Linked DNA regions of Homo sapiens: region 2 is linked to region 1. Evidence: promoter capture Hi-C in human tissues and cell types (Jung and others, 2019). All regions are on one chromosome and are shown on one strand. Each heading gives the region's core, a stretch centred on a gene start or on the middle of the fragment in contact. The rest is flanking DNA. Distances are from core to core; before and after follow the strand shown.

Region 1 (3,745 bases), core at 529-3,028:
GCCATCAAATGCTTTGTCAAAAAATAATTAATTCACCAGGCACGGTAGCTCACATGTGTAATCCCAGCTCTTTGGGAGGCCGAGGCAGGAGGATGACTTGAAACCAGAAGTTCAAGACCAGCCTGGCCAACATAGTGAAACCCCGTCTCTACTAAAACTACAAAAATTAGCCAGGCGTGGTGCCAGGCATCTGTAATTCCAGCTACTTGGGAGACAGAAATGAGAACCGTTTGAGCCCAGGAGGCGGAGGCTGCAGTGAGCCTAAGTCATGCCACTGCACTCCAGCCACTGCACTGCAACAGAGCAAGGCTCTGTCTCAAATACTTTTAAAAAAAAAAAAAGATTCATTAAAATAGGTATCAATATGTACACTAAAGGACAAATAGTTGATAAAGTCAATTAGAGAGGAGAAACTGGCATTTGGCAACGTCAGACAAAACTGGAAATTTAGTATTTTACTGCAAGCCAGTCAGGCTGGAGGAATAAGGGATGAGGGGCAGACTTGAGGCCCTGCTTGGGACACTTGTGAAAAATTCAGGGAAAAAATCAGTCCCCTGTGGAGTGTGAAAACCATTAAGTGGCAGGAAATTAGATTGAGGTGGCTCTAGTCCCTGGATTTCTACTTCTAAAAAAAAAGTCTAAACTCAAGAGCATTTTTTTGTAAATTACTACATTGGCAGAAACAAAATTCAGGCTTAACGCTTAACCAACTATAAACTGCCAATTAAGCTCTGATTACATAACCATGATATTTCCACCTTGATTGTAAAAATTAAGAACTAGGACGGGGGCAGTGGCTCACGCCTGTAATCCCAGAACTTTGGAAGGCCGAGGTGGGTGGATCACCTGAGGTCAGGAGATCGAGACCTGCCTGACCAACACGGTGAAACCCCCGTCTCCGCTAAAAATAAAAAAAATTGCCAAATGTGGTGGCAGGCGCCTGTAGTCCCAACTACTAGGGAGGCTGAGGCAGAAAAATCGCTTGAACCCGGGAGGTGGAGGTTGCAGTGAGCCGAGATCACGAAACTGCACTTCAGCCTGGGCAACAGAGACTCTGCCTCAAAAAAAAAAGAAAATGAAAACAAAACAACAACAACAAAATAACAACAAAATCTACATAACCGTACCTAGCCAATTACGGAATTTGGTTTTATGATGAAACTTATAAAAACCTTTCCTTCCATGGAATACAAATTAGAAACCACAGCAAGGTGCTCTAAAATTTTTGAATCACACTTTAAATTATTTAATGTTTTTGCAGTGAGGCCCATAAATTTTTAATAGGAAAAAATGGCCTGAAAACCCCACGGACCAAAGCTCTTCCCATTCATGAGCCCGCACCCGGAGTCAGGATTCTGCCCTGACGTTCCTCCCATGGTCCCTGCACAATCTGGGAGAGACGCGGGGCTACTGGTGCAGAGCTGCCCAAAGAGGGCTCCAGGCCAGGGCACAGTCACTGCGCAGTGAAGAGACAGAACGCCCGGGAGCCCGGCTGTCAGCGCAGCCGCCATCTTAAGGCTGAAGGGACTGAGGCCGAGCTGGGCAACAACTCGGGCGCAGATTGTAAAACTGACAGCGAGGAGGCCTGAGTCCCGCCACTGCCGCTTCCCACCGGTTCCAGCCAGCCCCGTTCCCTCTCTTGGGATGTCGCACCCGGCACTCTCACCATTTCTAGGCTTCCAGGGGGCAGGTCACAGGGCCACAGAGGCTGCGCCCCTAAAAGCAGAAGACACAGAGTAGTGAGGACGAGACCTGGAGCTCCGGCCGCAGATAGAGACAAAGGCCCCGCCAAATCCCGGAAGCCGCCCTGTTCGCTCCAGCTGCGTGCCTGATTGGACAGTTCCCAGGACAGCGTCTCTGATTGGATAACGTTTAAGAACCCCGCTTTCTAAGGCCCTGAGTGACAGAAGATGTCATCAGACGTTGGGCTGAATGAAGAAAGATTGACAGCCTAAGCCTCAGCCTTTTCAGGCGGGGCTTCCTCCCGGAGCTGAACGAGGCCCATCTCAGAACACGGAAAAATTTTCTCTCTTCTTTGCTGTCTTTTTTTCAACGTATTAAATATGTGAATAATTTTTTTTTTAGACAAAGTTTCGCTCTTGTTGTCCAGGCTGGAGTGCAATGGCGCGATCTCGGCTCACTGCAACCTTCGCCTTCCGGGATCAAGCGATTCTCCTGCCTCAGCCTCCATAGTAGCTGGGACTACAGGTGCACACAGCCACACCGGGCTAATTTTTGTTTTTTGGTTTTTTTTAGTAGAGATGGGGTTTCGCCACGTTAGCCAGGCTGGTTTCGAACTTCTGACCTCAGGAGATCCACCCGCCTCGACCTCCCAAAATGCTAGGATTACAGTCGTGAGCCACCATGCCTGGCCGACTCGATATTATCTTTAAAGCAAAATTAGGAATACCTTTATTCCCCAGATGTTGGAATATCTGGACACTCCTCCGTCTGGTTCTGCTTAGTAAACATTATTAATTCATTTCCTTAACCATAAATATCTAGAGGCTAGGAATGCCTAACTTACTGAGAATGCAGCCCAGCGAGTCTCAGCGTCATTTTCCTAGCTCTCTCTCAAAACGGAGTCGCTCTGGTTCAAATGATTCTGACATATTTTTCGCCTTCCTTTACAAGAGGACCCTTAATCCTAAGAGTTGCAGAGAGACAAAGATTCGTCTTCTGTAACTTTTTCAGGCTGATTAGGGGCGATAATATTCCTGCCTAACCATTGGTCTCTTGCATTCAGGGTAGAGAGAAATTCAGTCAGACAGTGTTGGTATGGTGAAGGTCGTTCATAACTTCTAGTTCCAAAAGAAGGTGATGTCTAGAAGATTAATAAGCGTCCAATTTAAGAAAGCATTTAGTGAGCTTGTCTTGCATTCCTACACAAAGAGTACAACCACAATATATTCCACAACAGCAAAGCAAAATTAGTAAAATTATTCCACGTAAACTAAACAGGAAAGCCTTTCAAGAAGTGGGCAGTTGTTAGAACCAAACTGATATATGGTTCACTGATAGCACATAAATGGCAGAGATGTGAGTGCATAAAACTTTTATGCCCTGGGTTATGTTATGTAAATAGTCTGGAGCACACACAAAACATTTGGTTTTGATCAAAGCATAGGTTTCCTTTTGAGTCTCTGTTTAAATGTCTACATACACAACAGTTTGTTCGATTATGTAGACAGGATGAAGTCTGTGCCCACTCAGTAAATAAGTTACTCTCTGCATGATTTCAACTAATTCCCAAAAGTAGAAAGCCAATCTATATCTTTATGTTACCCATCCCTTTCATTTCTTCTGAACAGGAGTCAAAGGTCACTGGCTCATGGGAATAAACAGGATCAGTTTCTTCTGTTCTGCCGTCCTGTAGGACTTCATAAGAGACAGGTTTAATTCGAGTTAAGTGGACCCAGCTATTTATTCCCAGAATTTTAACTGCAGTTGGGGTACTAAAGAGAACTTGATAGGGTCCCTTCCACTTTGGGGAAAGTTGACCTGCTGGGGATCCTTTTTTCCAAGTTTTTAATAGGACCAAATTTCCTGGCTGGGTTATAACAAGATTAGCTTCCTTAGTTGGGGAAAGGAGTCTTTGATTTCCATATTCAGAGTGTGTTTTGCACTTGTCACATAATTCTGTAACTTGAAAGTATCCGTGTCTATTAGGCACAGTAAAGAAGGCGTGTAGCTAAAAAAGGCCTTGCATACATTATTTCAAAAGAGCTGAGCTGCAGATTTCCCT
Region 2 (3,745 bases), core at 798-3,297, 42 kb before region 1:
ATGTCAGCTTCTCATTGATTTTGCTTCTCTTCTTAATCAGCTCTAAATGTAGATGTGGTGAACATGGTGGTCTGTGTGTTCTGAAGCTTGCTTTGTGCCTTTGTTACTCTGATCTGCACTGGAGAGTGGATAGTGTGTGGTCATGTGTTTGTTTTGTGTTATGCTAAGAAAAAAGGAGAAGTATCAGTGCATTGGGAAAGTAAAGTGGTTAACGCTGGTCAAATTCTTATGTTTAGAGATTATTATTTATTATATTTAAAGTAAATGGAATTTTGTAGGGCTCATTTGCCCAATTTGTCTCTAGGAAGTCTGATAGTAGCTAGGGCTGTCTCTTGTGTCTCTTCAGAAAACTAAATAAACAGAAATCAGTCCTAAACACCAGAAACTACAACATGCTTATATTACAAGTGAATCTGTCCAGAGTACTTTTAAATAAGTTTAACCTACAGCGTTCAAATTGCAGACAAACTTTGGTGAAAAGCATTTCTTAGCCAGGTTTGCCTGTATTTGCATTAAATCAGATAAACCAGAAGTATTTGTCTCTCTTCTACCTGTGCTAGACCTATTAATCCATACAAATCCAGTTTGACAAGTCAACAATCAAAAGTTTTACTTTAATTTCACCCTTTCTTGGTTGTTACTGTACATGTGGTTTACAAAGAAAAGGGAAGATGGAGCCACCATTTTGAACAGGCATAGTCCCCAGGCAACCCCTTTTCCTACTGGCATAGCGTGGGGGTTGTAAGACAATACATTCAAGCTTATGTACAAGGCATTTGAGGTTGAGGCATGGAAAAATACTGAGGCACTGTGTGTATGTTGTTTGTGCATGAGACTGTAATTCCTTGACCCTGAAAACAGGACAAGGAACAGAATGTGTGATAAAGAGTGCTGAACACAGCCTCCTAAGAATGTGGTTTGAGTGCTTTTAGATGTTATAAACAAGGCCATATGTGCCTCATGACCCGAATCCAAATAGCCACCTGGTGGATGTTTCTTGTTTGTCTAAATTGTAGTTCAACAAGCCTTCTCAATAAATACTTGGCGGATGAATCTTAAAGCAACACTCCATTGGAGGAGCTGCTCCCTTCCCCGTTCAGCTGTAATTGTCTGAATATTTATTTCTCGGCATTCACTGCAGAACAAGCTGCAAGTGGTGACTCGGACGTGATCAAGTGGTGACTCGGACATGATCAAGTGGTGACTCCGACGTGATTGCCTTGAAGTTATGCATGGAGTAGGATGACTCACCAATCTTCGGGGAATACCGGTAAGGGACAGTCCCTACCCATTTTCAGGAGGACAGCACCGACGTCTATAATACCAGGGGTCGGGTTACCATGGATCAGGAGTTGTCCAAAGAGCAGAAAGTATTTTTTAAAACGGTGCAACATTTACTTAAGGTTATTCAGTGCACCATAGAGTCTGAAGCTTTGCATAAGCTTATGTTTTTAATTCGGCAGGAATGCCCTTGGTTCCCTGACCAAGGAACATTAGACTTAGAGTTATGGGAGCAGGCAGATTGCTGCCTGAAAAGAGGATTTGAGCAGGTCCATTTTACTAATGTTACCGTTTTGATCACCTGGAGTCTGGCATGTTCTGTGTTGTACCCTCTTTATATGCCAGATCGTGGTGAGTCAGATTGCCCATTTTCTTCACCTGAAGGGAATTCGGAAAATTTAAAGGAAAAGGGGACACAGAAAGCAGAACAACAGGAAGGAGTTCCTCCCCCAACTTCACTCCCTTCAGTAGGGCATAAAGAAGACACTTTTTCTAGTGATGATGAGGACGGACTGGAGCCTTTTCCTCTCTCAATAGAAAAGCCATTGCCCTCTTTTCCTCCACCCTTCACACGACCTGCATCTGTTGGCCCCATTCAGGCAATAGCACCTCCCATCCCCCTTGAGTAGATTGGAGGCCGTCCAAGGGACTGTTCTTGGATAAGACCTCCAGGCAGTGAACATTTATATGACTGGATGGCCGTGTCCCCTCAAAAAACCTCCCTACTAGAAGGATGCCTCCAGGAGGGACTGAGGAAGGAAGATCCTGAGGCGCTTTTTAGTGCATTCCCTGTCATTGTTCAAAATAATAGGAGACGGCATGAGCGCTTGCCTTTTATTGTCTTTAAGGAATTAAAAAGAAGTATCTGCAAAAATGGTGTACATTCACCCTTTACGCAGGGGATGGTTGAGGCTCTGGGAAATGGTTATGAGATGGCTGTGCATGACTGGAAAACTCTGGGAAAAGTTTTGGCTTCAGCTGCTGAATATACTGTGTGGTGGAGAGAGTACAGTGATCTAGCCATGCAGCAATCCTTGCAAAATTTGGATAATATCCTGATACAGCTTGATATGTATGCTGTTGGAGACAGGGCCTTTTGCTTCAGCTCAGGCTTAGGCTCAGGTGGATGGCCGTCTATTTCCTCAATGCTCACAGCTAGCGATACAGGCATGGAAGAGGATACTCATGGGACAATTCCAGAGTTCCTTTGTGATGGTTAAACAGGGTGCCACAGAAACATATGTTGAATTTATCAACCGATTGCAGGCTGCAATTGAAAGACAGGTACCTCATCCTGAAGTCGCTAAACTTCTTATGTTGCAATTGGCTTTTGAAAATGCAATAAGGATTGTCAGGCAGCAATAACCCTAGTCTGAGCCACTGCCACTGAAATCGGTGTGTTTATTAAAACGTGCCAGAATGTAGGCACTTACAACTTATCTGGCTCAGACTTTTGCTGCAGTGATGACTGGGGCCACATGTTATAATTGTGGCCAAACTGGGCATATGGCCAAAGAATGCCAACAGAAGGGAGTCCCAAAGAAATCAAAGGCCCCTAAAATACCCTCTCAAGAATGCCTGCGATTCAGCAAAGGTAAGCACTGGGCTAATCAGTGAAATTCAAAATTTGATAAGGATGAAACCCATTATTGGGAAACGGGAAGAGGGGCAAGACCTCCAATGCCCAGAAAAATCCATGGAGGAACACCAATTCCCAGACTTGGGGAATGACTTTCCCCTCTGAGTCAGGACCAGAAATAGCATCCATAACCTCTCTTCAGCCACCTCTGGCAGCGCAGGGCTGGACCTCACAGTCATATCAGATATGGTGCTTAAAGAGCAAGATGGGGTCCAGCTGATTTCTACTGGAATCTATGGCCCATTACCCAGAGGAACGTTTGGATTGATTATCAGAAGTACACTTCAAGGAATTCAAATTTTCTCTGGAGTCATAGATTCAGACTATTTAGCAGAAATTAAAGTTATGGCACAGGTGTCAGGGGTCCATGCCATCTCTAAAGGGACTTGCCTTGCTCAGATTATTCTTACTCCTTACCTTCAAGTAATGTTCAACAGACCTGTGGGGCCTCAGGATTCGGCCACTCAGGCATGAAGGTTTTTTGGAGTACTCCAGTGTCATGTCATAGACCATACTTAGAAGTAACAATTAATGGAGTTATGTTTATGAGAATTGTTGACATGGGGGCTCATCAAACTATAATAGCTAAAAGACAGTGGCCTTCAGATTGGGCCTCTCCTGCCTGATGTTCTGTCATGGGTGTTGGAGGGTATCAACAGCCATTAAAAAGTAGGCATATTCTTCCACTTTTGGGCCCGGAAGGCAAGGTCACCCATGTTCAGCCCTTTATCTTAAGAGATTCTATTTTCTCTGTGGTAATGAGATGGCCTAGAACAGTGGGGCTTAAACCTCTCTGTCCTGCCCCCTTTTTGGTAGGGGCCACTG

The links. Contacts are between HindIII fragments. The study calls those that stand out against the background at their distance.
Region 2: a contact is called between a fragment that was not itself captured here and the fragment with the promoter of ZNF726 in region 1, in 1 of the 25 tissues and cell types used here (pancreas).

The regions. Positions count from the first base shown.
Region 1 is chr19:23,912,919-23,916,663 of GRCh38, reverse strand. It overlaps ZNF726 (zinc finger protein 726), which reads right to left and starts at 1,778. Exons shown (of 4, transcript NM_001244038.2): 1 at 1,667-1,778. The coding sequence starts at 1,669. The HindIII fragment of the contact is 4,279 bases long and covers 1-2,237 here.
Region 2 is chr19:23,955,256-23,959,000 of GRCh38, reverse strand. It overlaps ZNF276-AS1 (ZNF276 antisense RNA 1), which reads left to right and starts at 1,048. Exons shown (of 3, transcript NR_149007.1): 1 at 1,048-1,270. The HindIII fragment of the contact is 3,248 bases long and covers 424-3,671 here.